3 separate regions of the Homo sapiens genome follow, and regions 1 and 3 are each linked to region 2. The links are contacts of gene promoters, found by promoter capture Hi-C in blood cells and fetal thymus (Javierre and others, 2016). All regions are on one chromosome and are shown on one strand. The core of a region is centred on a gene start or on the middle of the fragment in contact, and the rest is flanking DNA. Distances in the headings are between cores, read along the strand shown. Region 1 has its middle 72 kb from the start of MIR4472-2. Region 2 holds the start of MAP1LC3B2 (microtubule associated protein 1 light chain 3 beta 2). Region 3 has its middle 43 kb from the start of MIR4472-2.

Region 1 (3,583 bases), core at 381-2,880, 200 kb after region 2:
TCACCAATCCAGGTGAGCGTCATGTCATCCACTGAGAGCTCAAATAGAAAAAGGTTTAGGAAGCATGAATTTGCTGTCTGCTTGAGCTGGAACATCACCTTCTCTTGCCCTCAGGCATCAGCACTCCTGGTTTGGGGGACTTAGGATTCAGACTGGGACCTATGCCATTGGTTTCCCTGGTTCTCAGGCCTCTGGGCTTCATTGGACTGGAACTATACTACCAGTTTTCCTGGGTCTTCAGCTTGCAGATGGCAGATTGTGGAACTTCTCAGTCTTCATAATTGTGTGAGCCAATCCCCCATAATAAATCTCTTTCTCTATATCTACACATTTCCTATTGGTTCTGTTTCTCTGGAGAACCCTGAGTAATACAGCCTATAATAGACCAAGCGCCCCAGACGCTGGCGCTGCTATCCCAATTCTGCAGCTCTCGGCCAGCAACTGAGCACGTCAGAGACACTAAGGCAGCCTGTTCATGGGAGGTGCAGGGCTCCTCCAATGGTGACTTGAGCTTGAGAATTCTCCAAGGGCCTTCCCAAACCTTCCTTAGACTGCATGGGAGTCCAGGACACTCCCACCCAAATTTCTTCTTTTTAAAAAAAAATTTTTTTTACCCATCATAAACTAGATCCTACCCAACTTTCCCTTCCCTTCCCTCCCCTCGCCTCCCCTCCCCTCTCCTCCCCTTCCCTTCCCTCTTTCTTTTTTATAAGACAGTCTCACTCTGACACCCAGGCTGGAGTGCAGTGGCATGATCTCAGCTCACTGCAACCTCTGCCTCCAAGGTTCAAGCAATTCTCCTGCCTCAGCCTCCCGAGTGGCTGGGATGACAGACCTGTGCCACCACACCTGGCCGATTTTTGTATTTTTAGTAGAGACGGGGGTTTCTCCATGTTGGCCAGGCTGGTCTCGAACTCCTGGCCTCAAGTGATCCACTCACCTCGGCCTCCCAAAGTGCTGGGATTACAGGTGTGAGCCACTGTTCCAGGCCCCCACCCAACTTCCTTTCCTCTCCCCTTCATTTGGGATTGTGTGGCCCTCCTCACTTTCTCTGTCTCCCTCCCTGCTTCTCCCACAGACCTTTCTTCTAATAAATCCTTTCTGCTTTAAATTTATTTTTAGTCTCTGCTTCTAGGAGAACCATGGCTAACACAAAAGATTTTGACAAAGAAATAAACAACATACCAAGTATTATAAAGATCATATTTTTGGACCTTCTTTCATTTATTTATTTGGAGACAGAGTCTCACTCTATGGCCCAGGCTGAAGTGCAGTGGCACAATCACAACTCACTGCAGCCTCCACCCGCTGGGCTCAATCAATCCTCCCACCTCAGCCTCCCGAATAGTTGGAACTACAGGCATGTGACACCACGTCTGGCTAATTTTTGTATTTTTTGTAGAGGCGGGGTCTCGCCCTGTTGCCAGGCTGGTCTCAAAATCCTTAGCTCAAGTGATCGGCCCTCTTGGCCTCCCAAGGTGCTAGGATTACAGGCGTGAGCCACTGTGACCAGCCTTGGACCTTCCTTGATGGATAAGCCTGTCTCTTGCCTTGTGCCTTGTCCAGCTTGTGTTCTGAGGGAATGCCACCTCCAGAAAGCGAGTATATGGTACAGGGGAGCCCAATCAGACAGGAAGAGGAAGGAAAAGCACTTTCTTGAGGACGTTCGGCATCATTTTCATAAAATGATTATGTTCTCTTCTCCAGTAAGCCTCATCTATTCATTAAAATGACCCCTCCACCACTCCTGACACTACTTCCTTTGCTATTATACTTTTGTCCAAGTAATTAAATAATTAATTACTTGGATAATTAATTCATAGTAATTAAATAATTCTTTCCAAATACATTCTTTTTTTTTTTTTTTTTTTTTTGAGATGGAGTCTCGCTCTGTTACCCAGGCTGGAGTGCAATGGTACCATCTTGGCTCACTGCAACCTCCGCCTCCCGGGTTCAAGAAATTCTCCTGCCTCAGTCTCCCAAGTAGCTGAGATTACAGATCCCACCACCACAACCGGCGAATTTTGTATTTTTATTAGAGACGGGGTTTCACCATGTTGGCCAGGCTGGTCTTGAACTCCTGACCTCAGGTGATCCGCCCGCCTCAGCCTCCCAAAGTGCTGGAATTGCAGGCATGAGCCATCACACCTGGCCAAAATAAATTCTTTAAAAAAATGTTTGTAAAGTATATGTAATATCTTTGAACAAATAAATTCTATCATTTGGACAGAATGACAAAGTCTTTCAGATTTTCTCTTCTCCCACAGTCCAAAAGGGTGAGGTCATTTTTCTGGGTATCATACCCTGAGTGTGGGCTGTGAGCAGTGATGGGGGAGGAGAAGGGAACGAACCTTCATGTTAATTCGTGTCATCTGCTTTCCTCTCGACTCTGATGCTGCCTTGCTCCAGGACCTCTTTGCTATCTGCGTCTTGATTTTTCACCTTATCCCATGGAGATGACGGCTTCCTTCTAATTTTTTCTTAGAATCAGGGAGTTCTTCGAAAGTCCTTTCCACATTATCTTGGGTGAGACTTTGCAGTCATGGTGTGTTCAGTAATTCCTCCAACTCTCCTGTGCGGTAGGAACAGGGCATTCACTTTGGAGCAATCCTTCTCCTTTCAAGTGGTGAGGTTTGATAAGGTCTTCCTCTGTGCCGAGGTAGCTGCGGAGAGTGCCTGGCTGGCCGTCCATAGTTGATTATCAGCTCAGCTCGTGTGGCACTTATGATTGGTAAAGACAGGGGAAGACCTGGGCTATCAGTGCCTCTTCCCCCACAAACCCCTGCCAACCCCTGACCCCCTAGTCAGAGGAGGAAGTAGGTCTGGTTTCCCGAGAGGAAACTCAGGGACAACAATCCCCTAGGCCTTCTAGTCGGAAACCATTTGGCATCTGACGTCGATTTCATCTTCCTTATTCTGTTTCTGACTTTGCCTTGCTGGGAGGTGCTGTGCTGGTTCATAGAGCTCAGGTACTTCTGTTCTGGCTTTAACTTGCTACATTGCACTTGCTGTTTACATGTGTGTCTCTCCAGTGGGGTTCAGTGTAATGACTGCTTACGTTCAGGTCACCATTTAATCTCTAGTGCCCAGCACAGTGCTGGACATGCAGTTAGTATTTAATCAATGTTTGATGAATGACAGTTGCCAAGAGAGATCAGGGGAACCTGGTGTTAAGGTTCCAAGCTGATTCATCGGTATGAACATCCTGCTCTATTTCCTGAAGTCAGATAGACCCAGGAGAGAGAAGGCTACAAGATGCCATGGATATAGGGTCCTGGATTTGGCCAATGTTAATCAAAAGCAGCTATGGGTGATGTACTCAAAGAAATTGCCGTGAACCGTCATCGAGGAGCAAAGGCAGAGCCCAGTGACAGGATTGTGGGTTAGGAAGTGAGGTGTGACCCATTGTCCAGGAGGGAACCATGAGATCACAGCCAATGGTGTGGAATCATAAATCAGTCCGGGGGTTAATATAGGGGTGGGAGCCAAGATACCTAGAAGGCAGTAGGAACAAAATCCAAGCTAGCTACGTTGAAGCGAATGGTTCAGGACAAAGACTATGAATGAGTTGAGTATCAGTGGT
Region 2 (4,006 bases), core at 172-2,671:
GTCTCCCTATGTTGCCCAAGCTGGATCTGCCTTCCTTTTATAAGGATACCTGTCATTGGATTTGAGGTCCACCCAGGTAGTCTAGGATGATTCAATCTTGAGATCCTAAAATTAATTTACACCTGCAAAGATCCTTTCTCCATTAAGGTCACATTCACAGGTGCTGCAGCACATTAGACTGTGGACATATCTTTTCTTTTTTTGGTGGAGGTGTGACTGGGGAGACACTATTAAACCCACTACAGTGTAAAAGTAGGCCAGATGTGATGGTTCACACCTGTAATCCCAAGACTTTGGGAGGCCGAGGTGGGCGGATCACTTGAGGTCAGGAGTTCGAGACCAGCCTGGCCAACATGGCGAAACCTCGTCTCTACTAAAAATACAAAAATTAGCTGGGCGTGGTGGCGCACCTGTAATCCCAGCTAGTCGGAAGGCTGAGGCAGGAGAATCACTTGAACCCAGGAGGCAGAGGTTGCAGCGAGCCGAGAGCGCGCCACTGCATTCCAGCCTGGGCGACAGAGGAAGACTCTATCTAAATATATATATATACATATACATACATATATATATATATATATATATATATATATATATATATATATATATATATATAGCCAAACTTAGCTTTATTTCAGAGCCGTTGCTGGGCCTGGGAGTGGAGAGAGATCAGGAGAGCGCCACCAGCTTGGATCGGTTAGTGAGCTGCGGTGGTTTTTGTTTTTGTTTTTTTTTTCTTGACAGTGTCTCCTATTGTTTTGTATTTCTCTTTTGTTTTGAGGTTTTCTGCCATCTTTTCTGGAAGGTGCATGATGCTCAGCTCTGTGGTTATTTTTGCCCAACAGCTGTGTTTCCGGTGAGCGGCTGTGGGATTCTTCTGACTCAGCAAAACTGGAGCAGTAACCGTCAAGAAGCCATTCAAGCAAGGCTAGAAATAAAGAAGCTGTTTCTTCACCGTCCCCTCCTCCTCCTCTCACTTCCCTCCCCATGGGTACCTTTTGAAAGTCTCACAAAGCACTTTGAAAAAACTACTTGGACCAGTATGCTGGAGGGTTGACTGAAGGTGGCCCCTCCGCTGGGCTTTAAGCAAACAGATAAATTCTGGAAAGGACTCTGCCCTGCCAGCCTGGCTGTGGCCTTCGGAAGGCCCCTCCCAACATGCCCCCACCCGCCGATCACATGGACTGTGTCTTACAAGTTTCCCACAGGTCTGACTAGTGAAAGCAGAGGCTGTGGGGACTTTTGTGGTTTTTCTAGGGTGTGGCCCCACTTTGCCTTCACCAGGCCTGAGTATCTATGCCGTGCAGCTTGCCTGCTTCTCAAAGGTCATGATTTCCACCCTGGGGCTGGGAGGCAGCTACATATTCCTACCCGCTGGCACAGGATCTGGCCCTGCACTCCCGAGAGGTGGCTGCGAGCCTTGCGGAGGCAGAGAGAGAACAAAATGGAAAGGAATCTTCCTCCCGGAGAGCCATCTTCTGTGCATGCCGGTGCCTGCAAAAGACAGGCGAGGCGAGACAGCTGCACCTCGGGCCTCGTCGCTGTTGCTGAGAAAGAAAGGAACAAATAAATTTAGCTCCATCCTACGCATCCTTTGCAGCTGCTGATTGACCAAACAGAAAGAGGCCTCTATTTCAACCCTGGCTTCTCAGCTTTTTGCCTGATGGGGTCTGCTATCGCCCTTTACAAGGGACTTTTGAAGGAGGAAACGGGCCGTGGCCTTATTTAGCGCCTGGCCGGCTGGAGGCTGCACAGACAGGAGTTCAAGTTTAGGGTGTCTCTTCTTGCCCATCCCAAAGCAAAATGGTGGCCCGGAAACGTTTCCAAATGGGCTTCGGCTCCTGGAATTTCCAATGTATTTATTTGGAAGCCAGAACATGGTGGGTGGAGAGATGTGTAACTGTGCCGAGGCCAGCCTATAGCTCCCGAAGCCATTAGTTTAATAGCACCATTTGTGGAAATAAAGAACTCGCTGACTGGGCTTGAAGGTAAAAGACTGGAACGAAGCACTGAGGGGGTTTCGTGGGGCTCACTAGCGTGGAGAGGTCCCTGCGGGATGGGGGACAAGCTGTGTGGACTTTGAGTCAGATAGACTTGGGTTCCAGTCCTAGCTCTATCACCTAAAGGCACGTTGTCTCTGGACAAAGAGAGCCTTTGCTCTGTGATATGTAAGTGAAATGCTAGCTGTGACACTGAACCTCTCTGAGCCTCAGTTCCTTATCTGTAAAACAGCAATGATGACACGAGGTCGTCACAAGGATTAAATGACAAAGAATACTGAACCTACATAGCCCAGCTCTTGCTGTGCCATGATGGTGTAGAGTGGCCCCTGTTTGACCTGCCCAGGCCCATTCTCCAAAGAAGCTGTACAGGTGAGGTGGCTCACCCCTGTAATCCCAGTACTTTGGGAGGCCGAGAAGGGAGGATCACTTGAGCCCAGGAGTTTGAGGCCAGCCTGGGCAACATAGAGAGACCCCATCTCTGCAAAAAAATAAAAAAAATTAGCTGGGTGTGGCGGTGCACGCCTGTGGTCCCAGCTACACAGGAGGCTAAGGTGGGAGGATCCCTTGAGCCCAAGAGGTCCAGGCTGCAGCCTGGGTGACAGAGCAAGACCCTGTCTCTAAAAAAAAAAAAAAAAAAAAAAAATAGAAGGTGTTTCTTCCCCAATCCTCTCCTTTCATTTCCCTCCCCGTGAGTACTATTTGGAAGTCTCACACGGCACTTTTTAAAAACCACTTTAAGTCCGGGTGCAGTGGCTCATGCCTGTAATCCCAGTACTTTGGGAGGCCAGGGTGGGTGGATTACTTGAGATCAGGAGTTCAAAACCAGCCTGGCCAACATGGTGAAGCCTCATCTCTACCAAAAATACAAAAATTAGCGGGACACGGTGGCACATGCCTGTAGTCCCAGCTACTCAGGAGGCTGAGGCAGGAGAATCGCTTGAACCCGGGAGGTGGAGGTTGCAGTGAGCCGAGATTGTACTACTGCCCTCTAGTATGGGTGGCAGAGTGAGACCCTGTCTCAAACAATAACAACACTTTAACCAGTATCCGGGAGGGCTGCTGAAGGTGGCCTCTGCTAGGCTTTACACAAGCAGATGGGTTCTGGAAAGGACTCCACCAAACCAGCCTGGCTTTGCCTTTGGAAGGCCCCTCCCAAGATGCCCCCACTCGCCACTCACATGGACTGGGACTCTGTCTTACAAGTTTCCCACTGGCCTGAGCAGAAGGTGGGAGGAATTTCTGTGGTTTTCTAGGTTGGCCACAGAATACTACTCTTCCTCCTCCCACTCTTTTTTCCGTAAGATTTGGGGCTCAACTTACTCTCAAACTCTGGAAGTGAGGAGGTGGCCCAGGCCTGATCATGGGGTCTCATATGCCCCTGGCCATAGTGATTCATTTCTGGAAACATCCCTGGGACTCAAGCTGGGACAATCAGAGTGAATTTCAGGAATGTTGGATGAATCTCTTAGGAGGGAGGAAATCTTTCTGCTGGATTTCTAAAAGCTCAAGTTTTACACTCAGTGCTGCCATTGGCTCTCTTTGTATAATGGAAGGAAGAGTTGTTCAGAGAATGAAGCTAACAGAGATGAAACCAAAAATGGAGAGATCATATGCTGATGACCATTTGAGCCCCTTGATCCCGCCATGCCTGAAGCCATCACCCCTTCAACTTGCTAGTTATGTGAGTCAATATGGTTCCTTTTTGGTTTGACCTAGTCTGAATTAGGCTTTTGTCTCTTGCAGCTAGAAGAGTCCTAAGTCATACCAGCTTCATAAACCTTTGGAATCTGAATTTACCTGTGGCCTCATCCAGAACTGTGAGGCAGGCCGATGACACTCAGTGCCACCTGCAGTAGTGGAGAGTCTGTGGTGAGACTCTACCTTCTGGCACGCTGATTTCCCTTAGACCCCTCTTGTGGACAGGAAGGCAAAACAATGAGAGAAGGGAAAGAAAAAAGGGGGGAAAAAAAGGGAGCGGGTTTCCTAGTAAAGTAGATTGGGCTTGA
Region 3 (3,565 bases), core at 54-2,553, 170 kb after region 2:
CTCCCAGCTTGGCCTCCCAAAGTGCTGGGATTACAGGAGTGAGCCACCACGCCCCACCAGTTCATATAATTTCTTTAAAATAATAGTTGTGCCTTCCTGTTCTCAAAAATCCAATACCCTAGGAGACATAGGGAGCCAGGTTTAGCGGTAGAGGGGATGAATTTGCAGGTAACTAAAGAACAGTATAGTTGATTGGGAGGTTCAGGGCCTGCAGTGTGCAGTGGAACTGACCTGTACTCGCCCTGCTTCCCCAAACGGGTGACCTTGGTCAAGCACTCCCATTTCTCTGCTTCAGTGTGCTCATTCATAAAATAATCATCTGCTCGTCGGGTTAATGCCAGTTCTAAATGAGATGATCTGGGGAAAACTTTTAGCACAGAGCCTGGCATATAGTAACAGCTCAATAAATGGTGGCAGCCCTCATTAGTGATGTGATAATTGTGCTAATGGGGAAGCGTACACATTGCATCTGCATTGGGAGCCTGGCCAAGGTACAGATTAAGGTGCTGGGTTCAGGCCAAGCTCGAGGAAGCAAACGAGGGCTGCAGTTTACGCCGGAAAATTAGGTGGGTGTTGACTTGGGCAGATGGCAGCCCAGCCCTTAAAAAAAAAAAAAAAAGTCCGGAAATAGGAACATTGGATGCATGCCTCTCTCTCTAGGGTGGGAACAAGGGACAGGAGAGCAAATCAATGGGCTTAAAAAGTCAAAGCAGGTCAAGTGGGCCGGGTGTGGTGGCTCATGCCTGTAATCCCAGCTCCTTGGGAGGCCAAGGTGAGCGAATCACCTGAGGTCAGGAGTTCAAGACCAGCCTGGCCAATATGGTGAAACCCCGTCTCCACTAAACATACAAAAATTAGCCAGGCGTGGTGGCACATGCCTGTAACCGCACCTACTTGGGAGGCTGAGGAAAGAGAATCACCTGAACCCGGGAGGCGGAGGCTTCAGTGAGCCAAGATTGTGCCACTGCGCTCCAACCTGGGCAATAGAGTGAGACTCCATCTCAAAAAATAAAATAAGGCTGGGTGCCATGGTTCATGCCTGTAATCCCAACGCTTGGGGAGGCTGAGGCGGGCAGATCACCTGAGGCCAGGAGTTCAAGACCAGCGTGGCCAACATGGTGAAATCCCATCTCTACTAAAAATACAAAAATTAGATGGGCATGGTGGCATGTACATGTAATCTCAGCTACTCAGGAGACTGAGGCACAAGAATCATTTGAACCCTGGAGGCGGAGTTTTCAGGGAGCTGAGATCCGGCCACTGCACTCCAGCCTGGGCAACAGATTGAGGCTCTGTCTCAATAAAATAAAATAAAATAAAATGAATAAAATAAAATAAAATAAACCCAGGTCAACTGCTCCAAGGAACAGTCTGCCTTCACCTGTCAGCATTTGTGGAGGCTAGTGAAGCACATGCTGTTGTTGGCGTGGAGAATCATGAACTGATGGTGGTGGCTGTATGAACCGCTTCGTGGGCAGTGGATCCGACCAGAGCTGAACTTTAGAAAAGATCTGTTGCTTGGATAAGGAACAGATTCGGTTGCTCAACCCAACCTGCCCTTATCGCCAATGACCCAGCTCAACGTTCTCTCTGGTTTAGAGGAAAACAAACAGGACGTTAGGAAGTAACCAGATCAGATGGTCAGAGGTGGATCTAGGGGGAGCCGGGACACTCTCTAACGCTCCTCCAGCAGGAGATGTCCTGGGCGGTGCCTAGAGGAATGTGATGGCTTCACACATGTGGAAGAGCCTAGCGAGTGAGGCTCCCTGCAGCTATGGATGTCCACTGCAGCCTCATGTCCTGGCCTCGCCCTCCCAGTATGAGCTTGGAATTTTCTTAAACAAGAAATTTCCAGTGTTGGCCAGGCGCAGTCCCAGCACCTTTGGAGGCTGAGGCGGGTGGGTCACCTGAGGTCAGGAGTTCGAGACCAGCCTGGCTAACATGGTGAAATTCTGTCTGTACTAAAAAATACAAAAATTAGCTGGGCCTGGTGGCGTGTGCCTGTAGTTCCAGCTACTTAGGAGGCGGAAGCAGGAGAATCGCTTGAACCTGGGAGGCAGACATTGCAGTGAGCCAAGATCACGCCACCGCACTCCAGCCTGGGCAACAGAGTGCCTCAAAAAAAAAAAAAAAAAAAAAAAGAAAAAGAAAAAGAAAAGAAAGAAATTACCAGTGTTGTTAAGTCTCATACACCGAACTGGCTACTCAACTTGGCTGGCCACCTTTGATCAGCTCCCAGATGCAGCCATTACTCACTTTGCAACCCACGAACTTCCTCTTTCTAAGCTGCCAAAAAAAAAAAAAAGATAATAATAAGCTAACATTACTGAGTGCCGGGTACTTTATGTGGACACTCTTCATTTAATCCCACAACCACCTATGAGGTCAGTTTTATTCTATAATCCCCATTTTATAGATGAGAAAACTGAGCTCAAGTAAAAGAATAGACCCATACATGGTCACCCAGCTATTAAGTGACTGAAGTCAGTATTCAAGCCCAGGTCTGTGTGACTCTGCACCTACCAGCTGCCAATGGACCCCAAATACCCTCTGTTCCTCTGATAAATTACCCCTGGGGTGGGGCCAGGAATAGGGCCAGGCAAACCAGGTGCAATTTTTAAGGAGGCGCTCATTCTCAGGTTCACGCAAGTCACGACCCTGAACATCATGCATGGCCCTGAGAACAAGTGCCTCCTTAAATTTTGCTCCCAGGCCGGCAGCCCCAGCAGTGCCTCTAGGTAAATACTCAGCCTCCCAGAGGGCAGGTGTAGTAGCTCACTGCCCACTGCAAGATCAGGGCAGCTCCCAGACAGGAAGAATGTTCTGGTCAGCTGTGACCAGAGGTCCTTTGCTTCTTTGTCTCATAACCACCTGGCTCTCCAGATTGAGGGGTGGGGGAGGGGTTGGGAGACACTCCAGTGGAATTCTCAGCAACCCTTCCCTGATGTGGACTCTAAGCCTAGGGGAAGATGTCTGAGACAGTGGGTCCCATCTCCCAGACCCCTTGCCACAGCTTCCTTGCCGGTCTGTTTGCCGCTTTCTGAGGAAGCCAACACTTGCCTTTATTCCTCTCTTTGACCACAGCTCTCCCCTGCAGAAATGTCCCTTCTCTGTGAACTCGGTGGTCCAGGGTCCAGGTGCTGGAATCACACAGACCTGGGCTGGAATCCTGGCTTCACTTCCAACCAACTGTGTGATTTTTAGGCAAATTTTCCCTCGCTGTGCCTTGGTTTTCCTATCTGTAAAATGGGATCATTGACACATGCTTTGCAAAGCATATTAGTTTCTTGTGGCTACTGTAACAAATTACCGCACACTGCATGGCTGAAAACAACAGAAATGTGTTACTCTCCCAGTTCTGGAGGCCAGAAGTCCAAAATCAAAATGTCACTTCCAGTATCCTTCCAGCTTCTGGTGGCTCCTGGAGTTCCTTAGCTCGCGGCTGCATCACTCCAATGTCGACCTCTATCCTCACAGTCTCTAGGTCCTTCTCTAGCTTTCTTTAGGACACTCACACTGGATTTAAGGCTCGCCTTGGTCTGGGCATGGTGGCTCATTCCTGTAA

The links. The method cuts DNA at HindIII sites, captures the fragments that hold promoters and counts their contacts. A CHiCAGO score of 5 or more calls a contact.
Region 1: a contact is called between a fragment that was not itself captured here and the fragment with the promoter of MAP1LC3B2 in region 2, in 7 of 17 cell types (total B cells, monocytes, fetal thymus and 4 more). The highest score is 7.8, in total B cells.
Region 3: a fragment that was not itself captured here is called in contact with the fragment with the promoter of MAP1LC3B2 in region 2 in 3 of 17 cell types (neutrophils, monocytes and naive B cells); the score reaches 6.5 in neutrophils.

What each region holds. Positions count from the first base shown.
Region 1 is chr12:116,354,321-116,357,903 of GRCh38, reverse strand. No RefSeq gene overlaps it. Among named protein-coding and RNA genes, the nearest start is that of MIR4472-2, 72 kb to the left of the region's middle. The HindIII fragment of the contact is 6,012 bases long and covers 1-3,583 here.
Region 2 is chr12:116,556,796-116,560,801 of GRCh38, reverse strand. It overlaps MAP1LC3B2 (microtubule associated protein 1 light chain 3 beta 2), which reads right to left and starts at 1,421. Exons shown (of 2, transcript NM_001085481.3): 1 at 1,369-1,421. RefSeq lists enhancers at 828-927, 968-1,017, 1,238-1,577, 1,417-1,926. The HindIII fragment of the contact is 18,876 bases long and covers 1-4,006 here.
Region 3 is chr12:116,384,017-116,387,581 of GRCh38, reverse strand. No RefSeq gene overlaps it. Among named protein-coding and RNA genes, the nearest start is that of MIR4472-2, 43 kb to the left of the region's middle. The HindIII fragment of the contact is 6,952 bases long and covers 1-3,565 here.